Linked DNA regions of Homo sapiens: all the other regions are linked to region 1. The links are contacts of gene promoters, found by promoter capture Hi-C in blood cells and fetal thymus (Javierre and others, 2016). All regions are on one chromosome and are shown on one strand. Each heading gives the region's core, a stretch centred on a gene start or on the middle of the fragment in contact. The rest is flanking DNA. Distances are from core to core; before and after follow the strand shown. Region 1 holds the start of ZCCHC12 (zinc finger CCHC-type containing 12). Region 2 overlaps DOCK11 (dedicator of cytokinesis 11). Region 3 overlaps DOCK11 (dedicator of cytokinesis 11). Region 4 has its middle 46 kb from the start of LONRF3. Region 5 overlaps DOCK11 (dedicator of cytokinesis 11). Region 6 overlaps DOCK11 (dedicator of cytokinesis 11).

Evidence for each region. The method cuts DNA at HindIII sites, captures the fragments that hold promoters and counts their contacts. A CHiCAGO score of 5 or more calls a contact.
Region 2: a contact is called between a fragment that was not itself captured here and the fragment with the promoter of ZCCHC12 in region 1, in 1 of 17 cell types (neutrophils). The highest score is 5.1, in neutrophils.
Region 3: a fragment that was not itself captured here is called in contact with the fragment with the promoter of ZCCHC12 in region 1 in 3 of 17 cell types (naive B cells, M1 macrophages and neutrophils); the score reaches 5.1 in naive B cells.
Region 4: a contact is called between a fragment that was not itself captured here and the fragment with the promoter of ZCCHC12 in region 1, in 1 of 17 cell types (naive B cells). The highest score is 5.1, in naive B cells.
Region 5: a contact is called between a fragment that was not itself captured here and the fragment with the promoter of ZCCHC12 in region 1, in 1 of 17 cell types (endothelial precursors). The highest score is 5.8, in endothelial precursors.
Region 6: a fragment that was not itself captured here is called in contact with the fragment with the promoter of ZCCHC12 in region 1 in 1 of 17 cell types (neutrophils); the score reaches 5.9 in neutrophils.

What each region holds. Positions count from the first base shown.
Region 1 is chrX:118,821,602-118,825,073 of GRCh38, reverse strand. ZCCHC12 (zinc finger CCHC-type containing 12) reads right to left here and starts at 1,250. Exons shown (of 4, transcript NM_173798.4): 1 at 1,069-1,250; 2 at 684-735; 3 at 361-485. The HindIII fragment of the contact is 2,857 bases long and covers 1-2,744 here.
Region 2 is chrX:118,575,945-118,579,416 of GRCh38, reverse strand. It overlaps DOCK11 (dedicator of cytokinesis 11), which reads right to left. Exons shown (of 53, transcript NM_144658.4): 13 at 770-892. Among named protein-coding and RNA genes, the nearest start is that of DOCK11, 82 kb to the right of the region's middle. The HindIII fragment of the contact is 1,656 bases long and covers 1,052-2,707 here.
Region 3 is chrX:118,598,245-118,601,716 of GRCh38, reverse strand. DOCK11 (dedicator of cytokinesis 11) reads right to left here. Exons shown (of 53, transcript NM_144658.4): 23 at 2,489-2,578. Among named protein-coding and RNA genes, the nearest start is that of DOCK11, 100 kb to the right of the region's middle. The HindIII fragment of the contact is 6,728 bases long and covers 1-3,472 here.
Region 4 is chrX:119,018,764-119,022,235 of GRCh38, reverse strand. No RefSeq gene overlaps it. Among named protein-coding and RNA genes, the nearest start is that of LONRF3, 46 kb to the right of the region's middle. The HindIII fragment of the contact is 1,293 bases long and covers 1,086-2,378 here.
Region 5 is chrX:118,639,193-118,642,664 of GRCh38, reverse strand. DOCK11 (dedicator of cytokinesis 11) reads right to left here. Exons shown (of 53, transcript NM_144658.4): 38 at 3,088-3,230; 39 at 1,360-1,475. Among named protein-coding and RNA genes, the nearest start is that of IL13RA1, 87 kb to the left of the region's middle. The HindIII fragment of the contact is 5,304 bases long and covers 1-3,472 here.
Region 6 is chrX:118,659,657-118,663,128 of GRCh38, reverse strand. It overlaps DOCK11 (dedicator of cytokinesis 11), which reads right to left. Exons shown (of 53, transcript NM_144658.4): 45 at 337-443. Among named protein-coding and RNA genes, the nearest start is that of IL13RA1, 66 kb to the left of the region's middle. The HindIII fragment of the contact is 5,270 bases long and covers 1-3,472 here.

The DNA.
Region 1 (3,472 bases), core at 1-2,500:
TCCTACCTGAATATCCTGCAGTACATTTTATATTTGCCCACTACCCTAAAAATAATCCTGTAGGAGATTGACACTTACAACCTCCCAGAGCTACCCGATGCCTGCGTGCTAGCAAGGTGCTTTTTGCAGCCACATCCATCCCTCCCACCAGTCCTCCAAGAGGGACGGTAACTGTTGCTTCAAATTCTAGGTGTAGCAGTGTCTGGAGCTGATATTGGGCTCTCCAAATAGAGTACAATGATCGCAGATTTGTGGAAATAAAATAAGATCTCATTAACCTCATGGTCTCTGGTCTCAACCACACCCCCTTCTCAAAGTGCCCCCCACGCCCGTCCCCCTTGTTATTTCTCAGATTCTTACACGAACTCTGAAACAAGAGCGCGTCTTTATTTCACTTCCAGCCTCTGCAACCAGTGCCCTCCGTGAGAAAGCTCCTCTCCGGGGTACGGTCAACCTCTGTCCACAGGGGGTCGCAGATCCGGGTCCTTGAGGTTTCAAGATTGCGCCACAGCGGAGAAGGCCAGAGAAGGGAAGGGTTAGAAGCAGCTTCACCCGTCATCCTGCTACCCACCACCTCCGCTGTTGCCAGGCGAAAAATTCTCTCTGCCCCCTCCTGACTATAAGCCAGAGACCAGCCCCCCACCCTCCAGCATTACATTTCCCCCGGGAAGCCGTCGGCCTACCAGCTCTGCAATCAGCTGCACAGAATTCAAGTTCAGATGCGGCTTTGATGGCCTGCCACGGAGAAAGGGAATAGGAGTTGGACACACCCACCCACATATTCCTCCCAGAAAGAGATGAGGAGATGCAAAGGATGTTCGAAGCAAACAGCTCGAGATTCCTCCCCCCGCTACTCCTCGCCTCTCCTCCCACCCCCAAATCCAGGCAAATCCTACCTAGCCCGCAGTATCCAGGTGAACCCCACCTCCTCCCTCAGCGCAGCCGGGCCACGAGAGTACTCCTACCCCTGCCTCACAGTCACCGATTCTCCAAGCTGGGAGCCGCCCAGTACTGGTGGGTCTTCCCCCACCCCTCTCCCCGCCGGGCAATCACACCCCCATTCTTTACCTGTGCTCCGCTGGTGGACAGCAGATGCTCCCGCGTCGCCAGCTGTGGATTCCGCCTTCTGGTCTCCGCCTTGCAGGCGGCAAAGAACTGAAGCCTCCTTGGCCGCTAAGCGACCCGGGGCTGCCCGAAGGAGCTGCTTCGCAGGGCCGCCCAACCAGGGGTAGCAGAGACGAGGCAGCGCCGTTCCTAAGGCAGCCGCGGCGGCTTTTATCCTCTGCCAGCTGAGACAAAAGAGCGTGACGAGCGGGCTAGTGCGGCCAATCAGCGAAGTGCGGGGGCGGACGCCCCGCACAGCCTTGGGCAGAGGCGAGTTTTCGCCTGAGGGGGCGGGGGCGCAGCAGGCCCGCGGAGCGTCAAGTGCAGCTTGATTAGACCGATGGAGCCAATCTGCCTGGGAATTTGCGACTCTTTCTTCCTCCCCCAACCCGTCCCTTCTCCCTGGGCTCAACTCTGCATCTTAGGCCAGGTGCATTAAACACGAAGTGGGTCCAAAATCAAGTGAATAATAAAAGTTCTTCACCTTGGTATAGGGAAAAGACGGGGAAGAGGGGAAGGGGCGGGAAGAGCATTAGCACGTGCATTGCGGAAACAGGCTTTCACACACATCTCCTCTTTTACTGTGAAAGAAGTAGCAGTATGTCCATTTAACAGAGAGGAGAGCTGGAGAACAAGGCTCTCAACCAATACCCATTCAAGTATGGGGGCAAGACATCAGAGTCATTTGGGGGAGCTTGTTAGAAATGCAGTCTTCTGGCCGGGAATGGTGGCTCACGCCTGAAATCCCAGCACTTTGGGAGGCCGAGGCGGGCGGCTCACGAGGTCAAGAGATCGAGACCATCCTGGCCAACATGTTGAAACCCCGTCTCTACTAAAAAGACAAAAAAAAAAAAAAAAATCAGCTGGGCATGATGGCGCGTGCCTGTAATCCCAGCTACTTGGGAGGCTGAGGCTAGAGAATCTCTCCAACCTGGGAGGCGGAGGTTGCAGTGAACCAAGATCGCACCGCTGCACTTCAGCCTGGCAAGGGAACAAGACTCCCTCTCAAAAAAAAAAAAAAAAAAAAAAAAAAAAAAAAAAAAAGGAAAAGAAAAGAAATGTAGGCTCTGGGCCCCAACTCTGGTGGATTCAGATTTACTAGGACTAGCGGTTGTGATGTGGTTTTGTATTTAGTATTTTTAACCGGCGCTGCGGTTGGTTCTGAGTTGTAGCAAGGTTTGTGAATAAGTAAATGAGCCTGTCTCCAATATCTGTCCACAGGTATCTGTGGTGAAATGCAACTCCAGAGCAGATGTGCCTACCTGGAATCCATGATCTTCCTGAAATTGTATGCAAAGATTTCGGACTCTGTATGAAGCTAAATAATGGCCACCCAAATGTATCAAGTCCTAATCCCTGAAACCTGTAAATGTTACCTTATAAAGTAAAATGGTCTTTGCAGGTGTGATTAAGTTAAGGCTTTTTGACTTAATTTTCCAGGCAGGCTGAAATCTAAACCACAAGTGCCCTTATAAAAGAGGGAGAGTTGGTGCACCAAGAAGAGAAGGCAATGACCAGAGATTAGTGATGTGGCCATAAGCAGAGGAATGCTAGCAGCCACCAGAAACTGGAAGAGGCAAGGAATAAAGCACAGTCCTACTGACACCTTGAATTCAGCCCAGAGAAACAGATGTTAAGCTTCTGGCTTCTAGAACTGTGAGAAATTAAACTTCTCTTGTTTTAAGCCAAGTTTGTGATAATTTGTTACAGTGCTGTTTTAGTCTGTTTGGGGTGCTATGGCAAAATACCATAGACTGGGTGGTTTATAAACAACAGAAATGTATTGCTCATAGTTCTGAAGGTTGGGAAGTCCAACTTCAAGGTGCCAGCAAGGTTGGTTTCTCCTGAGGCTTCTCTCCTTGGCTTGCACATGGCTGCCCTCTTGCTTGGCCATCCTCTCTGTGCATATGTGCCTCTGGGTTCTCTCAGTGTGTCCAAATTTCCTCTTCTTATAAGGACACAAGTCAGATTGGGGCCCACCCTAAGGGCCTCATTTTTACCTTAATAACCTCTTTAAAGGCCCTATCTTTAAATACAGTCACACTCTAAGGTACTGAGGGTTAGGATTACAATGAATTTGGGGGAACATAATTCAGCCTGCAGCACTCCATTTTCCCTTACTTCTGGTTCTGGGAAAGCAAGCCTTCCTTCTCTCATGTAAAGTGTGGTTAAGAGACTCCTGTGGGAACTTTGGGGGGTCAAGACCAAGTGCACTTGGACTGCCCAAGTGCAAAGGAGTTGCTTGTTCTTGACTCCTGATGTTTGGAAGTGAGTGAACAGTCTGATGCTTTTCAGCTGCTGTTAATTTCAGCTTCAGCCTGCCAAGGTACTTTACCTGCTTCTTTCTGCCTTCTTATTTCCAACTCCA
Region 2 (3,472 bases), core at 630-3,129, 250 kb after region 1:
ATACACAGTAGCTGGAGTGCTACTAATGAACTCAACCATGAACCTTTCCCTCCTGGGGTCTCAGTTTTTCCATTTATAAAAGGAGAGGATGAGATTAGAGCGATGATTTCCAAACATTTGAATTTCACAATTTCACAATTTTCTAGAAATCTGGATGACAATATAGGGTTGCCAACTTTTAATATTGCCACTTAAGGACACTCAACAATAATTTTTTAAATCCCTGCCATTTAATATGCCAACATTTCATGAAAGGAAGATACGCATAACCTTTAAAAAGTAGGAAGGGCAAAGATCTCAGAATAAAGGGCAGCCCTTTGAATTAAATACATTTAGCTTCATGAAATGTTCACTGTCTGTCTTTCTTTTCTCGTTTCATCACAGACAGGAGTAAATCTGGGTATGAACTGACATTTGGGAACTATAGGACTGGATCATCTTTAATCTCCCAGCTCTGAGATTCATTCTAGCACTTCATGTAGGGCTGTAAGGAAAAGAACGGCTATTGTCAAGGATATGGTGTCAATTAGCAGATGTTGCCTAAAAGCTTTTGGCTCTTATTTTGATAATCAAGCAGAAATCAGATTATCACATTAACAGAACATCAATGACAATAGGAAAATATGCCATGTTCAAGTTTTAGCAAACATACACAGTATACAATGTTTTCAGAATATATAGCATGCTCAAAGCAATGGCATTTAAAATATCAGTAAAAGGCAAATTCTACGTTAAGGTGAAATGTTGATCAACAACCTTTATAAATTACCTTTACTGGATCAGAATTTTTGATATAGGGTTCTGCACAGTGTGTAATGTTTCCCTGTAGTACCTTTTCAATTCTGGCAACTAGAAAAATTTCAGGATGTGGATTCGTCACTGAGAAAATTCCCTGGGAAAAAAGTACTTCCGTTAGACTTTCTTATGTAATCTTGTGCATATGGTTGTTTATGGTTAACGATTTTTAGTAAACAATGTTCATATTCAACAAAGGATCATGTCCAGGACCCTAGAAATAGATAGAATTTCCTTTCATAGAGTTTTCAAAGCTTCCAACGTTCCTTTCAAAATGGATTTTATATTTTGTCACCAACCTCACATCTGTTAGTCTCCATAGCGCAGGTGTCACCGTTGCTGCTTTGCCTCTTTGGTTTGGTTGTGTATGCGAAGTGAGTACATTTCTCGAGTGGAACTAGATATACATTTTTAAATGCAGCTGCATGTAACTCAAGAGCAATTAATATTTAACTAATATTTATTTCCACTAAGAAGGAAAAAGAAACTTTACTGCTCTAATATAGAAAAACTAAATCATCCTCTAAAAGACATTCCTTTGTTGCAGTTCAAGAGCTCTGGTGCTTCCAATGCAAAGGTAGGAGACAGAGAATCCAAAACTCATTTTGTCCCCATACACTTTACTTAAATGTACTAATGTAGATGCAACCAAAATTACATTTTTCTTTGAATGCATGTGGAACAGGAACACCTCCTGTCCAGTTTGACTCCTTCCAAATATAATATCATCTACATAGCATGTTAGTTGGTTATGCCTGTTGTTTAAAGGGGCATCACTAGTGAATTCAAGTGGAAAAATCTATCACTGAGTCTCTACCAAAATTTCGTTTTTTTCCTTGATATATTACCAACTTTGTTAATATAGTGATTTCCAGTTTCCAATGCATTTCAGACACATTATCTCATTTGTACCAGATAGAACCCTTGGAGGTAGACAGGGCAGAATAGAAAATTGAGTGTTAAGAGGCTAATGATTTCCCCCAAGTCAAACAGCTTATAAGGATCCTGCGTAATGGCTGATTCAGCTTTGAATTCCCAAGCAGCAAGCATGGAACAAAGTGGTTCAAATTTGCTTGAGAAAGTGAACAAAGTGGTTCAAAATTGCTTGTCAAATTTCTTGGGTTCTGGCTCCAACATTTATGGGTTTAAGCAAGTCACATTCTCTCTAAGTCTCAGGTTTCTCATCTGTGAAATAGCAGGATAGTAGTGATTTCATACATTTCTTGTATGGATTAAATGAAGTAATGCACATCAGGTACCTTGCTATTACCCAGGTGGCCCACCAAAGCATCCCAAGGTCACAGAACCTGGCTTCGGGTACTGCCGGGAACATGCTGTTTGAGCTGTGAGGCTGAACGGGTTGGCAGACTGCCCGGGCTGTCCCTGCAGAAGGTATGCTGAGCAGTGCACCTTGAGTGCAGTGTTACGCTAACTGCCACATAACCATGCTAGATGGTTTTCATGCTTTATCTCATTCAGTCTTCATAAAAACCCTGAAATGTAGGCACTACTATATACATATTCTATAGATTAAGAAGTGGAGGCTCAGAAAGGTTTGTGCAGTGAGTAAGTGGGTGAAGAAGATTGCAGTTCAGGCTTCCAGATTACACAGCCCATGCTATATTCTCTCTCAGCCCTGAGTCCCATACACCCAACATCTCATATGATGAGGCCTGATTAGAACAGTAATACTGCTGGGTGTGGTGGCTCGTGCCTGTAATCCCAGCACTTTGGGAGGCTGAGGCGGGAGGATTGCTTGAGCCCAGGAGTTTGAGAACAGTAATACTGATTATTGCTATAGCTAACATTTACTGAGCACCTATTGTTTCCCATTCCCAGTACTCTAAGCATTTCCTACTGATGCCAGCAATGAGGACTATAATTTTAAGATAGTTGATAATTGATAAAAGCTTGCTGTTTTCACTTGTTTGAGATCACTGTCAGTGCTACTACTCCTGGCTGCTACGCTGCACTGCGCTAACCCAGTGTGCCCATCACAGTGCTGAGTGTTTTCTTAGAACCACGCACCTTATTTGTGCCTCCCCACAGCCCTTGGAGACAGGTACTGTCACCACCTCCACTTGCAGATAAGGATGCTGAGGCACAGAGATGTCCATTTTCTAACTGACCAGGGATTCCAATGATGGGGGACACTCTTTGGGGTTGTTTTACCTTTTGTCCCAACAGCTTCTGGTCCTCTCCCTGTCCCCAGAATGCAAAAGGTGGCCAGAGAGAACCCAGAAATCCCACGTGGGCTGGAGGTCTGGCCGTTTAGGACAAGGTCTATGGCCCAGTCCTTGTTTCCCACCAAGGGGCATGAATATGCCTCCCCACCCCAGGGCGACTCTTACCCACTTTGCTGGCCCCTCCCGCTAGAAAATGGGCCAGGTCCTCTACCCCAGCCACCAGCACTTACAAAGCTCCCAGGATGTGGCAGGGCATGTGCTAGGGTTATATATTTCGGCACTTAATTACATTTGTCTAATATTCTTGATCAAATTATTTCAAACAGACCTAAATTCAAATCCTACCGTCACCACTACTAGCTGTGTAATGGTGAGCAGTTTACTTAACCTCCCTGAGCTTCAGTTTCGCCATCTGTCAAACAGTAGTGATTATATCATTTCACAAACTAGTATGATTACATGAGACACTGATGGAATAATGTTGGCACACA
Region 3 (3,472 bases), core at 529-3,028, 220 kb after region 1:
AATCACATGGTATTTCATTGACTACCACTAGAGGGAGAGCGTAGGTCACATAAATACCAGAAATTCCACATCTTCAGAAAAACAAATACGAGAACTTTTCTATTTTAAGAATACCCGTATATATGAAAATGATGTTCTTTTCCATTCCACTTGATTGAAACTTTTATAAAACTTTCCCATGTGAAGAACAAACCTTAACAAAGCATTCATACATATTGAAGTCCTAGATATTTACCTGAGGAAAGGATTTAAAAGTTAGATGATTATCATACTTTTTTCTTTTTTTTTTTTTTTTGAGACAGGGTCTCGCTGTGGCCCAGGCTGGAGTACAGTGGCATGATCACAGTTTACTGGAGACTCAACCTCCCAGGCTCAAACGATCCTCCCACCTCAGCCTCCTAAGTAGCTGAGATTACAGGTGTGTGCCACTATGCCCGGCTAATTTTTGTATTTTTTTATAGAGATGGGTTTCACCATGTTGATCAGGCTGGTCTCGAACTCCTGGGCTCAAGCAATCTGCCTGCCTGGGCCTCCCAAGGTGCTGGGATTACAGGCATGAGCCATTGCACCTGGCCTATTATACGTCTTAATGATAGTTAAGAACATATAGCCATATAGCCACCACTTATTGACTGTCTCCCTTCTACTCTTCCAACAGTGTGTTTTCTATATGGTAAGCAGAATGACACTTTAAAAACCAAAGTCACATCATGTCACACTTCTGTCCAAAGCTCCATATTCCTATCTCACTCGGAGTAAATTCAAACTCCTCGCCATGGCTTATGAAGCCTTACTCGACAAGCTCCCAGCAACCTCCCCAAGGTAATGTCCTATCACTCTGTGTCCCAGCCACACTGGGATTCTTGCTGTTCCCCAAACACACCAAGCCAAGCTCCTCGGGGCCTTTGTACTTGCTGTTCCCAGCTCTCCCCGAGAAATCCACATGGCTGGCACTCTCATTTCCTTTAGGTCTCTGCTCAAATGTGCCTTTACTAGAGAGATTTTCTCTGGCCACTTTAAAACAGGGACCCCTTGTAAATCCCTGCTCCCCTTCATTGTGCTGGTTTTCTTTATAACAGTTATTACCATATGAGATGACGTATATATTTATTAACTTATGTGTTTATTGTCTGTCTCAACAAGTAAGCTCTTTGACAATAGGGATATTATTTGTTTTCTCCACTTAAATTTCCAATGCTTAGAATGATGCCTGGCCCATAGGAAGCACTAAAGAAATAAGTGTGGCATGAACGATTACTATCCGGCAGATGCCCTAATCTTTTTCTTTTTTCTTTTTTTTTTTTTTTAAAAAAAAAGAAAACAAACCAGAATCTCGCTGTCACCCAGGCTGGCACAATCTCAGCTCACTGCAACCTCCGCCTCCCAGGTTCAAGCGATTCTCCTGCCTCAGCCTCCTGAGTAGCTGGGATTACAGGCGTATGCCACCACGTCTGGCTGATTTTTGTATTCTTAGTAGAGACGGGGTTTCGCCATGATGGTCAGGCCGGTCTTGAACTCCTGAGCTCAAGCAATCTCCTGCCTCGGCCTCCCAAAGTGCTGGGATTATAGGCGTGAAGCACCATGCCCAGCTCCATCATCTCATTTAAGTCTCACAACCACCCTACAAGATGGGCACTATTGTTATCCTCACATGACAGATGAAGAAACAAAGGCTCAGAGAAGTAACTTGGTCATGGTCAGTTACAGAGCTAGTAAGTGACATGTGGGATACAAGCTCAGTTTATGATTCCAGAACCCATATATTTGATCTCATCTCATACTACCTCTCTGAAAGAAATGAACATTTTTGTTTCCTGAGTATATCATTAAGTAATAGCATATGTCCAAAGGTAAATCCTAAAGATGTTTCATTTAAAATAATATTTCCTCAGACTTGCTATAGCTATCTTACTAAAGGAACAATTAAAAGAAGAGAGCCACTGTCAGGCAAATTATGATATGCACTGTAGTCCTAGCACACAGGGAAAAAACCAAGTGTTAGGTCCTCTATACATGTGGTAAGATACAATATGCCAACATGCATAAAATATGTGTCTTTCATTAGCTAGCCCCTTTGTTAGTCTATCACCCATGGACACAAGAACAATTTCACATTTCATTCCAAGTCAAAGTGATTCCATTCCTCCTGGCCCTTTCCCCCACAGCATCCTCCACCTTTATTGGGCAGTCAGCAGGAAGAGAAAGCCCCTGAAAAATCAATTTATGGACCTGAAATAAACATTTTCATGAGAGTTTCAAAAATATGATGCTGCATTGTGGCTATTACATTTTCTTCCTAATGTTGCCACTCTGCTGTCTGCTTCTAAACAGCCACATGATGGAAAAATACATCATAGAAAGTATTCTCTTGAGGAAATACAGCCAAAAATATTTTAAACTGTCTGTTTGCTTTTTTTTTTCACACCAAAATGTGGCAACAGAAAGACATGAAAAACAAACGTTTTGCAGAAAGCTGCTGTTCATTTACCTTTAAATATTTAATGAGCTCCCCTGGAACTTCTTTCGAGCCTGACTGAATCAGCTGGCAATGATGGAAGAATTTGTGCACATGCAGATCCTGGAACACAGATGGAAACAGCCATATGAAATTTGATTCATTATCCTCAAATGCAAGCTCTCTACCTCTCCCTCCTCCTGTATCTTGCAGACCTATTTATCCGGTATTCTAATGCCCAGGCTCAGCAGCTCTTGACCACTATACAAAGCAGCAAAACCAGGTAAATCTGCCATGTACACAAGCACATGGGGTAGGCCACCATTTATGCCCAACTAGCTAAAGATTCATTTGATTCCGACTTTGACTAGTGTGTTCTATGAAGTTGGGCTGCTTCTCCATTTTAATGAAATAAGCAGGAATAAAGGTATGAACTGAAAAAGATACAGATAAATAAATAATAAAGATGTGAACTGATAAAGAAAAGATAGCAGCAGGAAGTTAGCAGAACAATAGTCTCAGGCATTCAGTACCCAAATTTACCATGGCACTTCACTGGCAAGGGAGTCCAACTGTCCTATGTGGAACCCATATACACTGATTCTGTAGACAGCATGGACTACATCAGGAACCAGAATAATGAAATGTGTGTTTTGACCTGATTCCCCTGATTACTACTCTGTGACCTTGGGTAAGTCACCTAACCTGCCTGAGCCTCAGTTTCCTCACCTATAAAATGGAGATGATGGCTTCCACATTCCTTTCAGAGTTCTGTGAGGCTCAAATCAGTTAATGAGAATTAAAAGATCATGTAATTTGAGAGGAATTATAATATTTGAGATAGAATGACTGTTTTTTTTTTTTTTTAAGAGACAGGGTCTTACTCTGTCTTCCAGGCAAGAGTGCAGTGGCGCAATCATAGTTCACTGCAGCTTTGAACTCCTGAGCTCAAGCAATCCTCCTGCCTTAGCCTCCCAAAGTACTGAGATTACAGGCATGAGCCACTGCACCTGGACA
Region 4 (3,472 bases), core at 483-2,982, 200 kb before region 1:
TGGGAGCTATCATTCTAAGATGAATTGAATGTGTACACTTTATGTGGCTCCTTTTCCTTCCTTCTGTTTGAACTCAGAAGGGCCACAAATTGAAGCCCATGCTGCCAGCTGCTTTTTAGAACTGTCTTCTACCATAAATCAAAACCTCACTTAGCCCCAAGAATGGGCTGAAAATCTTCTCTTTTCCATTGTTTGGGCTGCCCTCCATTTGCATCTTTGTCACACACCACTGCTATGGTTCTGCCTTGGTGAGCAGAAATGGATGCGAAGTCAACATGTTGGGAACTCAAAAATGAGTTCCTGAATAAAATTCCCATCTTGGAAATGGAGTTGGTGTGGGGAACACAGACGGATTGCAGTCTGTCAACAGTATGCAATCTGTTGACTGTAAGAGACCTCTGGGTGCTGTGAACTAGCCTCAGGAGCTCCGCCGCTCCAATGGCCAGTCACAGGGGATTATCTGAGCCCAGGCCAGCTCCACAGGTAGAGCTGGAAGCGCCACATGCGCAATGACTCTGCTTGCCCCTTGCTGCTGAGGCAGCACTGGGCTAAAAGCAACCTTCAGAAAAGGCAAACTTTAAAAATTGTCATTCTCTGCCCCGCTAAGTCAGGGGCAGGCACTCTTTTCTCCAGGTTGTCTACAGAAAATTGGTTTTTCATTTTCTACATTTTGCTGGTTATTTGCTAGCAGCAGTAGTACAGTACAAAGCAGAAAGATATGATGTCTGCTTGCTACCTAGTGTATATATATATATATATATATATATATATATATATATATATACACACACACATACACACACACACATACACACACAAAGACATACATACATACATACATACATACAAAATATAACCTACTAGGCAAAGACTGGGTCAGTCATGATAGACAGAAAAACTAACTAAATAAGTGGCACTATCTACTGTGGGGGAAGTCTTATTTTTCTGGCCTAGATTTAGCCTTATGTCTTTCTTCTGTATACCCTTCATTCCCAAGCTGTGCAGCAAAACCAATTTCCCAGTGTAAAAATGTTCAAGACCAATTGATTACCTCGTTAAGGTACATCCCAAAGAAAGCCAAAGCTTAGCCTTGCATCCTGCCTTGCAACTAGACAAAATATTTAACATAGTGGAGGCTCAGTTTTCTCATTCATAATATGGGGATAATAACTGCTCTCGCAGGGTTGGTATGAGAAATAAATGATGTAATGAGCTCAGGTATGTGAGATCACTTGGCTCAGTACCTGGTACATGGGGATCTCAGTACATTTTTTGTTGAATCTGTTACTTTGGGCAACATAAAGAAATACTATCAACTAAGAACAGAAGTCACAGATTGTAAACTCTCATCATCTGGGATGGGTAAGGTTCTCAATACATTTTGGAGAACAGGGAGTGAAAAGTTGGTTATTCTAATGGAGCTAGAACTTAAGGCTTCCATTCTATCAGAAATCCTAGGCTGGGTGCGGTGGCTCACACCCACGCCCGTAATCCCAGCACTTTGGGAGGCCCAGGCAGATGGATCACCTGAGGTCAGGAGTTCGAGACTAGCTTGACCAACATGGTGAAACCCCATCTCTACTAAAACTACAAAAATTAGCCAGGCGTGGTGGTGCGTGCCTGTAATCCCAGCTACTTGGGGGGCTGAGACAAGGGAATCACTTGAACCTGGGAGGCGGAGGTTGCAGTGAACTGAGATCGAGCCACTGCACTCCAGCCTGGGTGACAGAGTGAGACTCAGACTCGCACACACACACACACACACAAAAGAAAGAAAGGAAAGGAAAGGAAAGGAAAAAGAAAGGAAGGAAGGAAGGGAGGGAAAGAGAGAGAGAGGGAGGGAGGGAGGGAACAAAAGAAAAAGAAAGGAAGGAAGGAAGGAAGAAAGAAATCCTAGACCTACATAGGGCACTACCTTCTAGCCCTTATTGAAGCAGGAAAAAAATTTCTGGTATAGGATTGATCCCTATCTCTGACCCTCATTTGTTCTCCAGTTATTTCACTTTCACACACATTTAATTCCCAAAAGAATTATCTGTAAATCATCAAATTATGGGTCCAAAAATCAGTGGTATGTATTCCCCCAACTAAGTTTAAAGGGGTTTCAAGTGGATATTGTGTGTAAAGGCAGTGTTTTATACAAATGTAGGCCCTTGATGATATTCTATAACTATGACTAATCTAATAGTAGCTATTATTTCTTGAGTGCATTCTAGGTGTGAGACACTGTGCTAATTGATTTACACATTATCTCATTTAATTTTCGTAACAACCCTATATGCAGAACTTATCACTATCATTTCATAGATTAGAAAACTGAGGGTTGGCAAAAGTTAAATCAATTGCCAAAAATAATATATCTAATAAGTAGAGAAGCTTAGGGCCTTTTTCTTTGTTGCATTTACACTAGATAACCAGAAACTATTAGGATTGTGTTATGACCACATGGTCTGGGAACCAGGTGGGAGGGGGAGTCTTTTCTGCTCCCTGAGCTTTGTGGAGTTTGCTTGCGCAGAAATAATGCCTATACTTCCGCCTATTTCTGTTCTTCACCTGCCCAGACTAGCTCCAAACATCAAATCTGATAAACACAACACTCTGGCAACATAATGTCCATTAAGTGAGTGCAGAAAAGACCATCTGGTTTCTGCTTACATGCATCTTTTTTATGTTGTCTGGATCATCTCATTCTCCCTTTCCTGTTTCTAGCTACAGGTGGTGATGGGAGAAGTAAGAATTACACTCTCACCTTAACAGAGTGATGGGCTGTGAATGAATGATGCAAAAATCATTCACTGTCCAAAATCACATGGTATAATTTGCATGAAGGTACTAATGGCACAATTCACTTCCTCCCTGCTCTAATCGTTTCACTCTGCCATTATAACACTCCCATACTTGTGGTACTTTACAGGCTGTCCTGCCACTGAAGGACTCAAACTAGCACTAAGCAAGCTAAATCAGGGCTTACTCTTACTCCTCACCCTATATTCTCCCCATACATTGAAATATTTCACCCATGCAACTAGAAGCAAAGGCAGTACTTAGGTAAAATAATAGATTATCTGGTTCCCTTTTTTTTTTTTTTTTTTTTTTTTTGAGACGCAGGTTTGCTCGTTGCCCAGGCTGGAGTGCAGTGGTGCAATCTCGGCTCACTGCAACCTCCATCTCCCAGGTTCATGTGATTCTCCTGCCTCAGCCTCCCAAGTAGCTGGGATTACAGGCATACACCACCAAGCCTGGCTAATTTTGTATCCATTTTTAGTAGAGACAGGGTTTCATCATGTTAGTTAGGCTGCTCTCGAACTCCTGACCTCAAGTGATCCGCCTGCCTCGGCCTCCCAAAGTGCTGGGATTACAGGCGTGAGCCACCGTGCCCGGCCATCTGGTTCCTTTAAAAAGATTTTTATAGGGTTCTACTCTATTTGTCTTATTTACATTTTAATAATAAAAAGTCCTTATCAAGTGTTTC
Region 5 (3,472 bases), core at 462-2,961, 180 kb after region 1:
TAGTGGCTAGAATCATGGTCTCTTATAACTGGCCTAGATCTCAATCCTGATTCTGCCACTGCCCAGCTATTTGACATTAACCTCCTGTGGGCCCCAGTTTCCCCATTATCAAAAGGGAATAATAACAGTATCTACATCATAAGGCTATTATGAGGATTAAAAGTGAGTTCATATTTGTATTTTTAAGTTATTGAGATATAATTTACAAACCATAAAATTCACCAGTTTCAGGTATACAATTAAATTACATTTAGTAAATTCGGCAACAGAGTTGGGTGACCACCGCAATCCAATTTTAGAACATTTCCATTGTTTCAAAAAGATCACTCCCCTTTCTCATTCCCAGCCTCACAATGAAAAAGTGAGTTAATATTTGTAAAGCACTTAGGACAGTGCCTGATATCTACCAAGAGACTATATAAATGTTTGTTAAATAAATTAGAGGTATCAGAATAGGAGGAAGGAATACAATGTACATCATGAGATCTAATGGCTTTCTTAGTTATTGGCACGATGAAACATGGAGTTGTGTTGCATTTTAATATAGAACAAACCTAATACTTCATAAAGGGATCTGTAGCCTATTTATTAAAGGTATTCTGCAGCCTATTTTATATTAGTATCTAATTCAATTTTCCTTTATAAGCCTCTTTGAAAAGCACAGGCCAGGTTTCCATAGAAAATCTCGAGGTCTGAAGCAATTAACTTAATTACTTAGAGAAGAGGGGAAAAAGGAAAAAAAAAATCTGTATAACTGAAGTGAAAGCAAGCAAGATTTTCACCTTTGAGTTCTTACATTATGGTCACACCGTTTTTACTTTTCAAAGCACTCTCACGTCCATTATCCCATTTCCCCCTCCAATAATCCTGCTAGATAACTGCTTTTACCTTCTTTTTAAAATCATAGCAATGATGATTTGCACTGAGAGGCAAACATCTGAGAAAAAACACTAAGTGCGCGCCTAGGGAAGCCAGCCAGACTGCCCGGACATCATCTACCCTGACAGGACATCTCATCACAATGGGTATTTGGGCAAACAGATCCAATCATATTTTGGGCTAAAAATTGCTGGCTACTTAAAGTATGGAAACTTTGTTTTTAAATACGAAAATCTAATAGAATTTAAGAGGTAGAAGAGAGCTTAAGGGCAAGTTAGTCCACTCCCTTCCCTTTATGGATGACACAAGTGAGTCTCAGTGACTTCCAGGGTCACATGATAACCAAACTAGAACTGCCATCCACATTTCCTGACTATTCATGCCAGCCTTTTTCAGTGTACTACCCCACATTGACTAGGTAATTTCTGCATAATGTTACTTTGCAATGGTACCAACTGAATTATAACTCTTCATTTTTACCTTGAAGCACTGAGTGAAAAATGATATGGTGTCTAGTACTGTTAGGGAAACTTCAGTAGCTGTATTGCCTTCAAGAAGTGCCTGGTGGAAAATGTCTGCTTCAGTTGTTGTAGAACCTAGGATTAAAAAAGTAAATTAAACTTTTCCCAACACGAAGATGCACATAATGGTGTTGAATGACTTTCTACCCAAAGACTTAAGACAAGAAAGGGGGCTCGGCTGGGTGCGGTGGCTCATGCCTGTAATCCCAGCACTTTGGGAGGCTGAGGCGGACAGATCATGAGGTCAGTTCAAGACCAGCCTGGCTAGCATGATGAAACCTGTCTCTACTAAAAATACAAAAAATTAGCCGGGCATGGTGGCACGTACCTACAATCCCAGCTACTCAGGAGGCTGAGGCAGGAGAATCACTTGAACCCGGGAGGCAGAGGTTGCAGCGAGCCGAGATCACGTCACTGCACTCCAACCTGGGTGACAGAGTGAGACTCCGTCTCAAAAAAAAGAGGGCTCACAGTGTCATACTGTATTTAACTCCTTCATCAAATATAGTCTGGGTTAATCAATTTCATTAGTTTTCATTACAGTTCTGTATCAACAGCTCTGCAGGACATAATTAGGTGCCCACCTCTTTGGAGACAAGGTTTCAGTGATGAACTCTGGCGATGTAACTAGGAAATAATGTGGGAGGCCTTCTAAGTCATGCCACTAATTATGTGGGTAAAAATGAGAAACCACTAAATAGAAATTCAGCTACAGATAAACAGTAGTGCCCTATGGTCAGACATTTTCAATTATGCCAATTATATGACATTTGTTTCTAAATCAGAAGGAAAACAAGGTATCTTGGAGGCAACTGAAGGAAGTGGTTCATCATATTTTTACAAGAAGCTGAAGGCTTTAAAACATGCAGATTTAAAGGTCCTGAGTCTATTAGTTCAGGGTCTAGCAAAACATTATTTTTTATTACTAGGTCTTACCACAAAGCCAGTTTTGCTGGCTTCCTTTTCTGAAACCTTCAGAGGACTGTGTGGAAACAAAACATTCTCACTCTTTGAGTTGTTATTAATATTTGCTTTTCATAGGATAGCTTCCATTTATATAACCCTCTAGCTTCCGCAGTTGGGCAAGATTTCTCTCCTTGCCCTATTTGCCTTGTCAATACTTCAACCTGTCTGAAATACACCTTTGCCAAACTAGTATTTAGGATTCACCGATTTCTGCAGTCAACTCAGCATGTTCATTCCCTAATCATTAAATGACCAAAAGTAACTAAACAAATATTACATATACTATTATATTAAGATGTCAATATTTGCATTGAAGTCTAACAGTAGGAATGAAGAATACTCAATATAAAAATATTATGAGAATAGCAATTCCATGGGAAAAATTTAGTTTCTTTAACACTAAGAAGAAAACATCATGACCTAAAATTGTTCAAAAATCCATGTGTATTTTATCATTTTATAGTCATGTATGATGAAATTGATTATATACATAGCAGAGAGATGCAAACACATGTATGGGAAATCATTTCCCATCATATTGGCAATTTAAACCAGGACTTCTTTTCTTCATACATATTTAAGGGATACAGGTGATATTTTGTTACATGCATATAATGTGTAATGATCAAGGTATTTATGGTATCCATCACCTTCAGTTTTTATTATTTAAACCAGGACTTCTTTAAGGTCAAATGGGTACCACACACACATTTTCACTTACTGTGATTAAGTGTAAATGAACTTTCTAGGCTACTAAGATGCTGAAGCCGGGCCTGCATTACTCCTGATCTGTTTCGAAGAGCAGGCATGGTTTGCGATTTTCGGTCTATTCCGAAGTGTTTTGACAGCCAGGCATCATGCACCCTAAAATAAATTTTAAAGTCAGGAACTGGAGTGCTCTAATAACATATCTCAATGTTATCATCTTTTTAACTAAAAAAAATTAGGTTTCCACATAAACATAGTAGTACACTCAAGGATTAAATGAAGTGTCACTAGAAACTGGATGAAGTTTTAATGTATCTTTAAAATAGCATATATGAATATAATTAAGGAATTTAGAAAGAGCTTCCACTTCCCTCCTTCTTCTCAAAAACATCAGAGAT
Region 6 (3,472 bases), core at 191-2,690, 160 kb after region 1:
ATACTTTTGTGCATAGTCTGTCTTAGTTGAAGTAAAGAGCAATGTTAACTCTATTTTTTATGGAAAAATTTCCAACATGTGTTGACTCTTATCTAGTTATTGGAATGGTGACTTGAGGACGGCAAATGCTGTATTTCTAAAACTAGACAATGGGACCAGTTCAAGAGACAGGGCCCTCTAAACAGGAACATCTTTGCCCTGGACAGTTTTAATACTTAAAGTTCATTAACCCTTAGTTACCTTCAAAATTAGGTTAGCTGTAATAATTGTTTAATATATATGAATTTTAAGAAGTGAAATTTATATAACTGGCAATGCAGGCCCTGGAATCCTTACTTCACTATAATGGACATCCATCATCCCAGCATCTTCTTTCATTGCTCCTTCTTCATCTATATTGGGAGTAATTTTCTTGAACGCTGAACATCCGTTAGGAAATAATTCTGTGTGAATAAAAAAAACAGTGGAGTGAATTTATGAGAAAGCATTTAGTAAATAACAGTGAGCCTTACAGAGATGGGCTATTTAAAATAAACACATTATTTTTGTAAGAATCAAAGTCTTAAGTACAATTTTCACTTACAAAAATTTTTAAATTTGTTTCCATTTGCTACATATTTTATTAGTTTCTCCCCCTACAAAGTGAGCTTAAGTTAGTTATGAATAACTTTTATTCTTTGACTATGTATCATCTTCAATGGCTAGGATAGATGTTTACCTAGTGCAATCTAAACATTTTTATTTAAACTTTGATCCTGTATACATTTGTGTTCTATCATCTAAACAAGAGGGCAGGCACTTTTCAGGTAACCACTAAGTGATCTTTGGTAACCATGTCTAGTGCCTAATTTCACTGAGATTTGGGAGAGGAAGTGAGATGTTGGAGAAGGTCTGGCCTAGGACTTTTAAGAGAGTCAGGAAATAAAACAGATGGCAGGGATGAAGCATCCTAGAGAAAACAGGATGGGGCACTGGAAGAACCACCACTTTTGGAGTTACATAGACTCAGCTCTATCACTAACTGTGTGATTTTGTGCTAATGTTTATCTCCCTGGGACTATAAAAAGTTTTATCATCTGTAAAACAGGGATAATAAATAACTATGCTATGAGAATTAAATGAAATGTAAAGTGTTTAGAATGGAGCCTAGTAAATAAGTACTCAATGAATTATTACTAGCAAATAAGCCTACCAATAAATAAACTAGCCTTCTCAAGGTAGAATAAAATAATGGCTGCCAGCTGGACTCCTGGGAAGTAGGAAGTGAACTCAAGCTGAGAACACCTGCTGTAGGCTTCTGGACCAAATTGTTACTGTCAAGCAACAGTCGAGGTGTAAAGGCCACATGGTTCCCCTATAGATTCTAGACAGGGGAACATGTGTAAACATTCCTACTGTGTCTGCCTTTACCTTTATCTAAGTGGGCTGTAATTTTAGAGTTCAAGGAAAATTCTGCCTCTTTATAACATAACCATTGAAAACGTTTCAATGAAAAAGTTTCCTTCTGATAGGAGCTAGTCACACAGACACAAAAAAATGGCTGTTGCAATCTACTGTTCTACAACCTAACAGTGATACTTACAAATAATGACCTTTACTTACAATTAAGTATCTGGTAATCTTCCTGTTAGAGGTTGGGGAAGGAAGAAGGAAGGTTTAAAAAAAAAATCAGACCTCATGTTGAAGAGATTTCTCAGAATTCTGGTGGAAAAGAGGTTATATATCAGGGCTTGGATTTTTCCAACTCTTCTTGTCTAAATGAAACCTAATCACTAGACATGTATCTTCTGGGTAAGCTGCTTAACAGAACATGGGTAGGAACCACACACAGAAGTAGGAACCACACTTCTTTGAGAGAAAGATGAAAGTCTGCTAGGGGAAGATAGGATTATTTTGAAATACTTTTTTTTTTTTTTTTTGGAGACAGAGTGTTACCCCGTCACCTAGGCTGCAGTGCAGTAGCGTGATCATAGCTCATTCCAGCCTCGACTTCCTGGACTCAAGCCATCCTTCTGCCTCAGCCTCCCAAGTAGCTGGGACTACTGGTGCAAGCCACCACGGCTGGCAAATTTTTATATATTTTGTAGAGACCAGGTCTTGCCATGTTACCCAGGATGGTCTCAAACTCCTGAGCTCAAGTGATCCTACCCATCTCAGATTACCAAAGTGCTGAGATTATAGGCGTGAGCCACTACGCCTGGCTTTGAAATACTTTTTCAAGAAGGGAGAAATACATGGGAGTAGTCAGTGAGTTTTAATTAAGGAAGAAGGAGCCCCAGGAATGAAAGTGATATTTACTTTGACCCACCAAGCTGTAGGACCATTTTTGTTCAAATAAAGTAGATAATAAAAGGCATTGGGCCAGGCGCGGTGGCTCACGCCTGTAATCCCAGCACTTTGGGAGGCCGAGGCAGGCAGATCACGAGGTCAGGAGATTGAGACCATCCTGGCTAACAGGGTGAAACCCCATCTCTACTAAAAAAAAAAATACAAAAAATTAGCTGGGCGTGGTGGCGGGTGCCTGTAGTCCCAGCTACTCGGGAGGCTGAGGCAGGAGAATGGCGTGAACCCGGGAGGTGGAGCTTGCAGTGAGCCGAGATCACCACTGCACTCCAGCCTGGGTGACACAGCGAGACGCCATCTCAAAAAATAATAATAATAAATAAAAGGCGCTGAAGATAAAACATAGCCTGCTTCATTTCTGAAGATAAGCATGCCTAAAATGGTCTGTTACAAGACCTCTAGAGAGTTCTATTCAAAGTACTGGACCATAAAAAGATAAGGAACTTTCACCAGAATGTAAATCAATTCCTCATTTCCTTCTTCAACAAAGTCTTTCTATTAAAAGGAACAAGTCAGTTGAACAAACAGAGTGTTTAGTGACATGGTTAATTTACATTCAGGACAATACTCCTTATCTTGTTGTAAACATGTGATAAATAGTTCTCAGACTAGCAGCTGGTCTGTGGGATACTCTTTGTGCAGTAGCGCATTAGGAGAACTTTTTGAAATGTAGAAGAAACCATCCCACTTGATCAGCACTATCAGGTCAAGAGCCAGGCCGTAAAGAAGAGGGCCCAAGACTTGAGTGAAGAGACAAAGAACATAGCCTTTATTGAAGAAGATAGTGAATCCCTGAAGGCCTCAGGCAGCTAGGTCCATGACTGGGAGAAAAAAAATTCCCATCTGTTCAAAAGAGATTATTACTTTAAGTCATTTCCAAATGTAGGGCTTTTCTAGAATGCTGGGATTTAAGGGAGGATGAAGAAAGGCACACTCCTATGCCAGATGAGATGAGGCTAAAAGCATCTTGCTAGAGTCTTCCGGTGTATCTTAAGTAGAAGTAGGGAAAATTATGTTTTATCTCAGGAACAAAGACATAAACACCCACTTTTGAAAGTCGTGTCTGGGTTATCTAGTGCAAAGACTACTATTGTGAATTTTCAGCTTCAGAGTCCAATATTCTTGCTAA